Regions from separate parts of the Homo sapiens genome. Here region 2 is linked to region 1. The links are contacts of gene promoters, found by promoter capture Hi-C in blood cells and fetal thymus (Javierre and others, 2016). All regions are on one chromosome and are shown on one strand. Each heading gives the region's core, a stretch centred on a gene start or on the middle of the fragment in contact. The rest is flanking DNA. Distances are from core to core; before and after follow the strand shown. Region 1 holds the start of KRTAP12-1 (keratin associated protein 12-1). Region 2 overlaps TSPEAR (thrombospondin type laminin G domain and EAR repeats).

What was found. The method cuts DNA at HindIII sites, captures the fragments that hold promoters and counts their contacts. A CHiCAGO score of 5 or more calls a contact.
Region 2: a fragment that was not itself captured here is called in contact with the fragment with the promoter of KRTAP12-1 in region 1 in 1 of 17 cell types (total CD8 T cells); the score reaches 6.1 in total CD8 T cells.

Annotation. Positions count from the first base shown.
Region 1 is chr21:44,678,648-44,685,278 of GRCh38, reverse strand. KRTAP12-1 (keratin associated protein 12-1) reads left to right here and starts at 3,116. Exons shown (of 1, transcript NM_181686.2): 1 at 3,116-3,703. The coding sequence starts at 3,156. The coding sequence ends at 3,446. All of the region lies in intron 1 of TSPEAR (thrombospondin type laminin G domain and EAR repeats), which reads left to right. The HindIII fragment of the contact is 12,382 bases long and covers 1-6,631 here.
Region 2 is chr21:44,491,922-44,498,552 of GRCh38, reverse strand. It overlaps TSPEAR (thrombospondin type laminin G domain and EAR repeats), which reads left to right. Exons shown (of 12, transcript NM_144991.3): 12 at 1-660. Among named protein-coding and RNA genes, the nearest start is that of LINC02575, 9.7 kb to the right of the region's middle. RefSeq lists enhancers at 5,203-6,402, 5,929-6,429, 6,430-6,631. The HindIII fragment of the contact is 1,170 bases long and covers 2,493-3,662 here.

The DNA of each region.
Region 1 (6,631 bases), core at 1,867-4,366:
AGTAGGGGTATGAGCCATCTCTCACGGCAGAGCTACTCCCTCCATCCCAGGCAGCTCCCAGGGGCACCCTCTGCTCCTGTGTGGGTCCTCCTGTGCCTGCTGGTGGTGGATATGGGTGATTCCTGCCAAGAAGCCTTCAGACAAGTCAGACACCATGTTAATGAAATCCCCTCCAAGGCTGAAGACCAAGTGGGGTCTCAGAGCTGTGGACAGAACTTAGAAGTCTATGGACCCAGAGCCGATCTGTGGCCATGTGAGAGTGACCTTAAGGCCTAGGGACAAGCCGGGCGAGGCCACAAGTTCAGCCCTGTCACAGGCAACTCCTTTCACTGCTATAGTTCAGAATCACACTTAAAAACCAAGAGAATTGGGGCAGCCACAGTGATCACATGTTCCTATGTGACCTAGTCACCAAGTAATCCATTTTAAAGGTTAGCTGTCTTACAAGTTGACTACAGAAGAATGAGGATGCATCTTTGATATTTACCTGCTCCTTTACCTTCCCCCATCTCCTTCCTGTAGGTCAGGGCCCACCTGGCCTCGTCCTAGTCAACCTAAAGCACATCCGTGCACGTTGCCTGGCCCTTACTCCTTCCTGCAGGTCAGGGCCCACCTGGCCTCGTCCTAGTCAACCTAAAGCACATCTGTCCACGTTGCCTGCAGCGCACATCTGCAGGGGAGGATTTCTCCCAGCTTTTGTTCCTCTGAACAGATTTTCACTTCAATCTCAGTTTCTGGGGTTTTTTGAGACCCTTCTTGCTTGGTCACCCAGGCTGAAGTGTGATGGTGCAGTCATAGCTCACTGCAGCTTCGAACTCCTGGGCTCAAGCTATCCTCCTGCCTCATCCTCCTGAATAGTTGGGACTACAGGTGCACACCGCCACCCCTAGCTAATTTTTAAATTTTCTGTAGAGATGTGCTCTTGCTTGTTGCCTAGGCTGGTCTACAACTCTTGGGCTCAAGTGATCCTCTTGCCTCAGCCTTCAAAGTGCTGGGATTAGAGGTGTGAACCACAGTGCCCGGCCCGGCCTCAGTCTCAGTCTTTAAGCACGTTCTTCATAGATGTAGACTTCCGGATTGCCAGTTATTGTTGCTCAGCATTTTAAAGATGTGTCTCCACTGTTTCTCATGAGAAGCCAGGGCGTTTTTCTTATCCTTGTTCCTTTGTATGTAAAGTGTCTTCCTGTCACTGCTTTTGAGATTTTGTCTTCATTTTTGGTTTTCATCACTTCATGATGTGCCTGGATGTGGTTTTCTTCCTATTTATCCTACTGGGGGCTTTCTGAGATTCCTGGATTTGGACGTTGTTGATTTTTGAAGTCAAATTTGGTGTATTTAAAATTTCTAACTACTGTACTTTTCAGTTCTAGGATTCCCATTTTAAAAAATAGCTTCAATTACTCTACTGAGATTCCCTATTTATCCATTCATGAAGACAATGTTTTCCTTTAATTATTTGAACAGTTTTCTTGGATTTTTTGGAAGATGTCTATAATAGCTGCTTACAGTCATCATTTGCCATGTCCAATATCTAGACCATATCAGGTTTATTTTTTTTAACAGTGAATTAAATTTACCTATATCTTTTAATATCTGATGATTTGTTTTTTGAGACGGGGTCTTGCTCTGTTGCCCTGGCTGGAATGCAGTGGTGTGATCATAACTCATGGCATCCTCAACCTCCCAGGCTCAATAGACCCTCCTGCCTCAACCTACCGTGTAGCTGGGACCACAAGCATGCACCACCATGTCTGGCTAATTTTTAACCATTTTTTTGTAGAGACAGAGTCTCACTATGTTGCCCAGGCTGGTCTGAAACTCCTAGCCTCAAGCAATCTTCCCATCTTGGTCTCCCAAAGTGCTGGGATTACAGGCATAAACAACCGTGCCTGGTCAATATCTGATGATTTTGATTGTGTATGAGGTATCATAATAATGCATTTACAGACTCTGAGCTGTATCATGTTTCTGATTTTTGTTCTAGCCGTCAGTTACTGGAGAATGACCTTAATCTTGTGCAGTTTTTGTTCAACACTTTGCTAGGGTGGATCTCTGGGAAGCATCTACAACTTGGAACACTCTGTATCTTGGTGGGACTCACATTCCAAACTGTCTTCCCTAAAAATCCTATTCTGAATTGGTTTAGGCTTTGTTCGGGCTGGCCTAGGCGGGTCTCACTGTAGTCTGTGGTCCTTACTCATTTGGTGCCGGGCTGTAGGGGGTCTCGGCTGGATGTCGACGTGGGGACTGGAGGGGGGCTTCACTCTCAATCCTCTAGCAGCTTCTCTCTGGTGAGCCTGTGGTTGCCTTGCCCTGGGAATGCACAGCCCTGCCCCGTTCCACAGATTCACAGTCAGCTTCCACAGTGTGGGGCCTGCTCTCCACACGGATCCTTCTTTCCGCTTCTCTGCTCCTCGGACTCCAGGGCTTCAGCTGCTTGAGCGCTGGCCCCTTCCTCCTCGGCAGAGTTGGGTCACTGTATTCTGCTCTGACTCCGGCTGGTGACACTGCATTTTGGAAGGTGACACTGCATTTTGGAAGCCTGCCCCAGCAGAGAGCTGGGAAATGGGAGTTTATCTCCTAAGTTTCTTCTCTCTCAGGAAGCACAGTCTGCACTGCTGGTTGACGGCTGCCTGAAAACGAGCATCTCCTAAATCTCAACTGTATAGTTGATAGAGTAGCCAGCTTTGCATCACTCACTCCAGCAGGTTCCCCAGTATGATTTCATTGTCTATATTCAGTTCTGGTCTCTTCCCCAAAGTTTCTGGTTGATGCAACAGAAGTTGCGGTTCGAGGAGCTCTTTTGGGTACCACTCATGTCTGCTTCAGCGTAGAACTAACGAAGGGAGGCAGATATCAGGCAGGTGGAGCTAAAACTGCCTGTGCATCACTGATAAATTTGGGCAGGTTTCCAAATGTAACAAGAGCTTGAAGAGGGTGCAATTAGTCACGAAACAAAGGGCCAGATAAAAAACATCATCTACGACAGAAAACTGAGTTCCAGGAAACAGCCTTGAGGAAGAAAAACAAGGAAGACAACAGGTGTGTGCTTCTGTGCTGTGGGGATGCCTGGGTCCAGGTATAAAGGCTACCCAGGGAGGCCATCCCCAGACATCACTGCCCTCTGCCTCGACCTTATCCAGCCACACGCCACCATGTGCCACACCAGCTGCTCCTCGGGCTGCCAGCCAGCCTGCTGCGCGCCCAGCCCCTGCCAGGCATCCTGTTACATCCCCGTGGGCTGCCAGTCCTCCGTGTGCGTGCCCGTGAGCTTCAAGCCAGCCGTGTGTGTGCCCGTGAGATGCCAGTCCTCTGTGTGCGTGCCCGTGAGCTGCAGGCCCGTCGTGTATGCGGCTCCCTCCTGCCAGTCCTCTGGGTGCTGCCAGCCTTCCTGCACCAGCGTCCTCTGCAGACCCATCTCCTGCAGCACCCCTTCCTGCTGCTGAGCATGAATCTCCAGACCCGCTGCTCCCAGTGCAGATGAGGCCACACCTGTACACTCCCTGGATGAGTCCTCAGTTGGTCTTCTGCACATGGTGCAGGTGAAAAGCATGCTCAGTGAACCCTCTGAATTCTGGATCGAGAATATAATAGAATGATCTGGAGCCCTGGCTGAACTTGCCTATCCCCCCAGGGAAGTCTGGGGTCCCAGAGTCATTCTCTGACCCCATGAGAGTCAAATAAACCAGCTTTCCCCATGCAACTCTGCGTTTCTTGTCTCTCTTTTTTATTTCTATACTCCCCGCTATCTATTCTGCTGATTACATAGAATTTGCTGCTAAACCCTCTTCAGTGATCCCTTCACCCAGTGCTCATCAGAAGGTGGTGTCCCGGGTGGAGGGCGCGGCTGCAGATGCCCATGTGGTCTCTCCCAGGGCTCCTGGGGCCCAGCTGCAGTGGCCACAGCGGTGACTTACCCGCCTGTGGTGGAGTGGCCTCGCTTCCCCACTGGCTGTCCACTCCTGCTCCAGGCCAGCAAGCCCTGCATTGATGGCCAAAGCCTCAGAGCACTGAGGATCGGGCTTTCCCATGTGGTTGGTGGATGTCCTGCTTCCCGGGTCGCGGAGGATCTCAGGTTTACAGAACTGGATTAGTTCTGCAGCACACACTCCCATCACTGATCTACATATGGCACTTTTTAAAAATTGATACATAATATGTTTACATATTTATGGGGCATATGAAATACTTTACACACAGAGGATACGTAATGATGAAATCAGGATATTCATCACCTTGTCTATCATTTCTCTGTGTTGAGGACATTTTACACTCTCTCTTCTAGCTGATTTGAGACATACAATACATTGTTAACTGTAGTCACCCTATGCTGCTATCAAATATTAGAACTTATTCTTTCTGTGTAACTGTATGTTTGTACCCATTAACCAAACTCACTTCTCCTCTAACACACACCGTTCTTCACCTCTGGTAATATCATTCTACTCTCTACTTCCATGAGATCAACTTTGTGAACTCCCACATGTGAGTGAGAACATGTAATATTTGTCTTTAATGACCTTCGGTTCCATCCATGTTGCTGCAAATGGCAGGACTTCATTCTTTTTTATGGCCGAATAAGATTCCATTGTAAATATATACCACAGTTTCTTGATTCATTTATTTATTGATAGACATTTAGGTTGAATCTGTATCTTGGCTATTGTGAATAGTGCTGCAATAAACATGGGGGTGCAGGTATCTTTTTGATACACCAATTCCCTATCCTTTGAATAAATAGTAGCAGGATTGCTGGATAGTATGGTAGTTTTATTTTAGTTTTCTGAGAAATCTGTATACCGTTTTTGATAATGGCTGTACTAATTTACACTTCCACAAATGATGTATAAGAGTTCCCTTTTCTCCACATCTTTACCAGCATCTGTTATTTTTTGTCTTTTTGATAATAGCCATTCTAATTGGGGTAAGATGATGCTATCTCATTGTAGTTTTGATCTGAAGTTCCCTGATGATTAGTGATGTTGAGTTTTTTTTAATATACCTGTTGGCCATTTGTATGTCTTCTTTTGAGAGATGCCTATTCAGGTGCTTTGCCCATTTATTAATGGAATTATTTGTTTTGTTGTTGTTGTTGAGTTGTTTGAGTTCCTTACATATTCTGGATATTAGTCACTTGTCAGATGCATAGTTTACAAATATTTTCTCCCATTACACAGGTTGTCTCTTCACTCTGTTGATTGTTCCGTTTGCTGTGCAGAGCTTTTCAGTTTAATATAATCTCATTTGTCTATTTTGGTTTTTGTTGCCTGTGTTTTTGTAGTCTTAGCCATAAACTGTTTGCCTAGACCAATGTCCTGGAGCATTTCATTTATGTTTTCTTCTAGTAGCTTTATGGTTTTCGGTCTTATGTTTAAGGCTTTGATACATCTTGAGTTGATTTCTGTATATGATGAGAGGTAGGGATCCAGTTTCATTCTTCTGCATGTGGCTATCCAGTTTTCCCAGCACCATTTATTGAAGGGGTGTCCTTTCTCTATTGTATGTTCTTGGCACCTTTGTTGAAAATCAATTGGCTGTAAATATATGGATTTATTTCTGGGTTCTCTATTCTGTTCCATTGATCTATGTGTCTGGTTTTATACCAATACTATGCTGTTTAGCCTTGTAATATATTTTGAAGTCAAGCGGTGTGATACCTACAGGTTTGTTCTTTTTGTTCAGGATAACTTTGGCTATTCAGGGTCCTTTTTGGTTCCATATGAATTTTAGGACTGTTTTTTCTACTTCTGTGAAACATGTCATTGGCATTTTGATAGAGATTGCATTGAGTCTGTTGATTGCTTTGGATAGTATGATCTTTCTAACAATATCATTTCTTCTGATCCATGAACATGGAATGTCTTTCCATTTGTTTGTGTCTTCTTCAATTTATTTTATCAGTGTTTTGTAGTTTTCTTTGCAGAGGTCTTTCACATCCTTGGTTATATTTATTGCCAGGTATTTTATTTTTAAAATAGCTATTGTGAATGAGATTGTGTTCCATGGGCAGGTCTATGCAAACCTACCCCCAAAGTTCAAGGAAGCTGAGAGGCCACAGAAAGAGGCTGACAAATCCAGTTTCTCAGAAAGAAACATTTAATAAGGACTTAAAACAGAAGCCATGTCTGTGTCTTGGGTGGTGGTAAGATAAGCTGGTGGATCCCTGTGCCATTACCCCTCCAGACCCAAGGCTTATATACCATAAGGAAAGGGTATATGTGATTTAGAAGGGCTCTGTAGACCAATTGAAGTAGGATAACGTCAAGGTTGTTTTGAAGCAGGATTTATAGTATGTGCTCTTATACAAGGAACAGTAGATAAACTGGAAATTTTAGAGGCCTTCCCAGAACAGGTTAACTAGAAGTCCATATGGCAGATTAGCATCCAAGATGGAGTTGTTTTAGCCTTCATGGATTGCCTTTTTGCTTACTTTTTCAGCTAGTTTGTTATTGGTGTATCGAAACACTACTGATTTTTATATGTTGATTTTGTATCCTGCAACTTTACTAAATTTGTTTATCAGTTCTAATAGTTTTTTGGTGGAGTCTTTAGATTTTTCTAAATATAAAATCATGTCATGTGCAAAGAGGGACAATTTGACTTCCTCTCTTCCAATTGGGACAGCTTTTAT
Region 2 (6,631 bases), core at 1,828-4,327, 190 kb after region 1:
CAAATAATAAACTCAGTGTCTACTTTTGCCGGCTTTGGGACCTTCGTGTTTTTCCGGGGCTCAGGTCTCACTCCAGCCATCGCTGTGGCCAGTGGAGAGCCACTCCCCTCTGGGGGCAGTCGCCGAGAGCCTCCTTCCCCTCCGTCCAGCCAGCAAGGCTTTCCCAAGCGTCCTGGGCAGGAGGGTTGGGCCCTGCTTTCCACCAAGTCACTCAGAAGGTCCCAATCACACATGATTGGCCTCATTGGGTCAGCACCTGTGAAAGGAAGATTAAAAACTCGACACCCCAATTCACTCAACCAAGAAGAAAAAAGCTGAAAGCTGAGTCCTGCAGGAAGCTGCCTTTCCCTTTGCCCTAAGCAGACAGCTGCAGATGAGAGGGTCAGCATCTCCACTAGTGGCTGCTCTGTGTGCCCCTTATCTCATGGAAAGTGCCAATTTACTGAGCACGAGATAAACAGGTAACTGACTGTTCCCACCTGCTCCTTTTCTCCTGCAGCATGGAGCAATCAGTCATGTGACCACACCCTCCTCCCTCTGCCCCCTCCAGCCGGCTTTTCCCCTTGACTGAAGCCTTCAACATCATCTTGGGAGAGAGGCACAGACCTGTCTCCTGGGTGCATCCTTAGCCTTGGCAAAATAAACTTCTCCATTGATCGAGGCCTGGGTCGGGTACTTTTTTGGTTTGCAGACTCACCCACATGCTTTTCCAGTTGGGCCTTGCTCTTCTCTTGTTTGAGTAATTTGTTTCTGTTCATGTGAGGCTGACGGTGTCGCAACTGTTCCAACTCCCATCTCTCAGCCAGATCCCTTCATTCCCCAAACTGTTCTAGATCTGGACTTATTTTGGAAATCAGAGCCTGGCTTGAGTGGCTGAAAATCTAAGAACTTCTGGGTAAAGTTACCACTCAGTGTTTGGAGCACAAAACTGAAAGTGTCTGAGCCAGGTCTCAGTCAGCTTAGAGGGTTATGATGCCAAGGTTGAGAATCTGCCCAGGAAAAAGTGGCACCAGTCACAGCAGGACCTGTGGCCAGGCCTTTTCCAGAGAGCATTTTGAGGTGCTGAGTATTTAAAAGAGGAGGAGAGGAGAGGGCAGGGGGAAGGGGGAGAGAGAAGACGGTGGGTGGGCAATGAGGCCAGTGGTCAGGCTCCTGGGAGGCTTTAATTAGCACGCACTGAGTGCACGTTGCAAGTGAAAGGGGGAGGTGGGGGAACAGCCCTTTAGGCACTCACCTGGCACTCAGCAAACCTGCATCTGACGTCAGATAGAGTAGACACAGAAAAGAAGAAAAAGCCAAGCCTGTGTTTTTCTCGAGTGTTTAACCAGAAGTCACGGCTGGAGACACAAAAGCACCTCCTGGCCTATGCAATTTTGTTCCTTTACTGCTTTAAACAAGCAAGATGTGGTTTTATTCCTTTAGTAGCTGGTGGTGTTGGCTCTGTGTCCCTGAACAAAAATAAAAGCAAGCCCTAGTCTTTTGTCCCACACTCGCGAGGATCAGCTGCTCATCGACACTGTCAGAGTGTGGGAGGCCTCCCGGGGAGATACATGGCCGGCCGTCTTGCAAGCTCTCTGTTCAGAAACAGACTGGTTCTCCTGAGAGGCAGGTTTTGCGTGACGCCATTTCCAAGCTTTCCCTTTCCCTTTGGAACAGTGAGTTTGGCATCTCAGGATTCTGTTTGCCTTTCACAGGAGGGAGAAGCTCCAGACGTGGGCTCGCCGCTGTCCTTCCATGCCCCCTCTTGGATGGAATCAGTGGGCCCTGGGGCCCCGCCCACCTCCCCAGTCTTCCCCTGGGGTTGAGAAGAGCACTTTTCTGTCTTGTTAGCCACGATTTCAAGCCAACGTTGCAAAAGCTCTGATTTCCTGGATCGTGGGGAAGCCCGTCTGGGCGCCCCAGCAGCACGTAGTTCAAACACCTCTCCTGGCACCGGGGAGCGGTTCCAGCGTGCCCTTCTGAGAACCTTCTTCAACTGCACTTGCAGTCAGTGTGTTTTCTCTTGTGTAATTGGAATCAGGACCTTTTGAATCCTACCTGCAAATTTATGCAAACAATATGCAAAAACTTGTGACAAAAATTGGCAAAGGAAGACCTTTTGCGGGTGAAGCACAACTGTCACCTAATGGCTCTCAGGGGTGGTTGGGGCGGTGGCGCAGGTGAGAACTGACGTTTGGTCGGGGTCTGTAGCGGTGGTGGGAGGTGTTGGGGTCTTCCTCCTCCCCTGCCCCGCAGTGTGGGAGTAGCCAGTGAAAGTGCAGAGTTGGGGGCTCCCTGTCTCTTCTTCACTGTGGAGGCATCTTCAGAGCTGGGGAGAGGGCGGGATCCCTTAGCCTCCCTTCAGGCTGTTCCTGATGCCACATCTGGTGCTGAGAATGAGTCTGAGAAGCCTCCAGGCCCCCGACCTCCCTATGCCGTCACACCCACATCAAACTATCCTGTGTTAGCATTAACTTCACATTATTGTAATTGTCCCCCTGGGAGGTTAAGCTTTGTGGAGCTTTTCTGTGATCCCTCTCTATCATGGAACCATCGAAACTCTACATCTTAACATCGGAAGGTTCTTTCACGATCATCTGGTCCAATCCCTTTGCTTTCCGCAGAAGGGGACCAACACACAAAGAAGCAGCTGACCCTGGTTCAGCCCTAAACCGGAGCCCTAAATCAGTCACCACCTCTCCAGCTGACACTACTCACTGGATGGAAGGCCTCACAATCTGGGTGCCACTTGAGATATGGTGGGAGCAGAAAATAGTTGTGTTATTTTAAAGGGTCAAGAGTGACTTTGTAAATCCACACCCCTGTCATTCCTAGAAAGCTATGTGGCTTATGGACAGCACCAGCTTCTTACTGTGCTTTTCAAACAGCTGGGCAGTTGGGCAGGACACACTGATTGCTCTTAGACTTGTAAATAACCTCTGGGCTGTCCAGAGCTGTCCCGAACTGTCCCGAGTTCTATCCTGTGGCTGTTTGTAGGCAATGATGAAATTGGGTTGTGGGGAGGAAGAGAAAGAAGAGAGTGGCGGAATGGGCTGTGGGGCCGATGAGATCAACATTTATTGGGCACTATTTCTGACGTTATGCTGAGTGTCACCCAACATTTGCCCCATTTTACAGTTTGAGGAAACTAAGGTTCAGAGAGGTTAAGTAATTTGCCCAAAGTCTCACAGCTAATAAGGAAGAAGACTGAGGTTTCACACTTGAGACTTTCTGATCTCAGAGCCCAAGCTCGTCACCACCATGCTCATGGGGCAACGGTGGGGAGAGAGCCAGGTTTCCAGGAAACCTCTCAATGGCCGTGCAAAAGTTGACCCTCTTACTTCCCGCCGCTTGGATGAGCGGCCTCGATGGTGGAAGAGGGGCCAGCAGAAGAGCAGGGCCATTTCCTGCGTTGGTCAGGATACGCCTCATCTTGCCCACGTCTTCCTGGGGCTGACACATGGGAATTTTTCCAGCAGGCCTGGCCCGAGGGCGCTGGGGCTTTACTTTTGTGCTGGTGCAGGCGGTTCTCAGGCTCAGATAAAATTTCCTTTAGCTGTTTATCCTCCCAACAAGCATTTTGCAAACACCTCTTCTGTCAGTTCTTGAACCACTAAGCATGGTCCCCGACCCAACAAATGGAGCTCCGATTCGGAGATGCAAAACCTGATTCCAGCAAAGCTTCTTGCAGCTTCTCTGGGGCAGTTTTCACAGCTCTTTATCTTCTCCACTTCTCTATTGTTGCTTTACCAACAGGGGCCTCTGCCACCAAGGAGTGGGGAAGACATGCAAAAGGGGCTGTGCGGCACTTGGGCTAAAGATTTTGGGAAGGATGTGGAAGCCGGGGCTAACCAGAGGTTTCGGCGTGACCTGCGAATCTTCCCCTCTCCCCCATCCCTGCGGTGTCGTTTCATCAGACACCGAAGCTGGGCTCATGAGCTAAGGGCCGCAGTTCACTTAAAATTCCGTCCCAGGCCAGGTGCGGTGGCTCACGCCTGTAATCCCCACAATTTGGGAGGCCGAAGCAGAGGATCACGAGGTCAGGAGTTCGAGACCAGCCTGGCCAACACGGTGAAACCCTCTATTAATACAAAAATTAGCCAGGCTTGGTGGTGCACGTCTGTAATCCCAGCTTCTTGGGAGGCTGAGGCAGAAGAGTTGCTTGAACCCAGGAGGTTGAGGCTGCAGTGAGTCGAGATCATGCCATTGCACTCCAGCCTGGATGACGGAGGAAGACCCTGTCTCAAAAAAAAAAAAAAAAAAAAAAAATCCATCCCAGCATCCTCAGCTGGAATAACTGCCAGTTGCCACTGGCTGCCCCAACGGAATTAACAGACGCTGCCACCAGCCCTCCTGACCTCATTGGACAAAGCTGCATCCTCAGCAGGCTGTCTCCATCCTGAGATGGAGTGGGAAGTCCTCTCATGCGGAGTCTGAGCTTCAGACAGGGAAGGATGGGGGCCCTTCCTGTATTCCCATCAGTGTTCACCTAAAAGGAAGAGGCTGAGGCATGAAGTCTAACTTAAAGAGTTGACTTGAGCCAGGGTGAGGACAGCAGCCCAGAAGACTCACACCCACGTACGCCTGGCTGTGAGCTTCCCGGCCATGAGCTTGCTTTCTTTGGCCTTCATTATAGGCAGGTTTTTAAGGCAAAAGAGGGTGACATGGAGCAGGCCGACACAAAGCTGCTTGTCGGGAGTCTCGCTGGCTCACAGAAATAACACTGCTAAGCTACGTGGTGCAGGTTGCAGCATCCGGTGGGCATGATTTGTTAGTTAGTGGCTCCTCATGGTCATCGCACGCAGCTCCTGAAGATGAACACACAGCTCAGAGGGAGAAGGACAGGACTCCTGTCCCCTCTCCACATCTCTCTGTGCCCGATCATGTAAAAGGACTTGTGTTCCTCACAGAACAGTTCTTTTCTCATCAGGAACTCCATTTTCTGCTTTCTTTGTCAGGATGGGGTCCCCTGGAGAGCTGCTTAGAGGGGCAGGAGAATCCCAGGAGGGAAACCTAAAGCATTTGGGCAGGGGCAGCAGCCACACCTATAACCAGCCTTACAGAGCAGGTCACTGGGGCTGAGAGTGGGAGAAGCCAGTTTCAGTCTCACATGGGTATTCTCCAGACAGACCTGGCAGGTCCTGTCCCCAGAGATCAGGGGTTGTAACTGCAGGCAGACAGAAAAGCCATGGAAAGCATTCATCCCTGCAAGAGCTCAGGGCTCACCCTTGGGAGATGCTGAGCAGCAGAAGTGCCTGGAAAATGTGTGTTGAAAGGGTGAAATGAGCAGAGGGTTCCGGGTTTGGCTCTGGTAGAATCAGAGGATGATCTGGGAGGGAGACATAGACCCAAATGGTAACAGGTGCGGGAAGTGAGACTTGAAATCTGAAACATGACATGACCCTGAGAATTTCATTCTAGTGCCTGGCTTCAGGCATAGGGTTGTGGCTGATGGGTGGATGTGTACACACACAGGCAGACACATTTACTGTTGGGAACGGGTGCTCGGTGTTGCAGAAATCAACACTGAGACAAAGGATCTCTCAGCAAGGCTAGTTTACTTTCTGCAGAAAGGGTGCCGCTCGCTAGCAGTCTTGCCACAAGAGCACACACAAAAAAAGACAGGGTCATTTATAACCTGACGCAGCTACCCTACTGCTGTGCCCAGTTTCTATCGGCTGGAATGGGACCTTACATTCTGTTTGTCTCGATTGGCTAGCAACTTAGAACTTCCCAAAAGAGGCAAAGGCAGAGGAGAACAAAGGAAGAGAGGAAGTAACTTGTGGAATGCTGAGAGAGGCAAAAACACTTCCAAATAAGGAAGAGGAAGAGGCTATGACCTAATTCTTGCTTGGACTGGTTCAGGCATGCCAGGGCAAATACCTAGACTAAAATGTGGGAGCTAAGAACAGAGTATATTGATTTCTTTATTACAGCTAGCAGAATTTAAGAATATTAACACAGGTCTTTGAGTAAACTTTGCTTCTAGAAGAGGTTACTATCTATTCTGAATTAGACTGGGAGGAAAGTCCCTTTGAAGAGGAACCTCTATTTCATTTCTACATGTACCTTCTGTCTTGGACTTTGGGAAGATGTTCTCTGGGCTGAAGACTGTCTGCTAGGTGAAAATATCAGGGAAGGTGATCGTTGCTTTTTCTGCCTATCGCCAGGAAGTTGGACTTTCATAAAACTCTAGTGCAGGTTCGCCGCAGCCTGGAGGGACAAGCACTGGGTTTCATTTTACTCAGCCCTGCCAAACTGTGTGCTCTAGGACGAGCCATTCAACTCTTTCAGCTGTGCTATAGGAAGAATCAACACCCATCTTGCAGGACTCATTTAGGGATTAAGAGGGAGAATCACCAGGAAAAGGAGATGTAATCTGTAAAGGGCTGTCACCCCCTTGTGATGGTGACACTGATGTGGTTAACCCCGGGACGGTGGGTCGCATCCTTGCCTAGAGCAGTGGTGTGTACAGGGTCATCCTTCACAGTGAGGAGAGGTACCGACGTCGTCTGATGCTTGACACAACCCGACCCACACACATTATGCACAGATAGCAACACTGAGGGTCTCGGTGACAAATGAGTGGAAGGAACATATGGGGGTGGGGGGCTTTCACAACCTTGAGAGCAAAGGCAAGGCAAGTTATTTC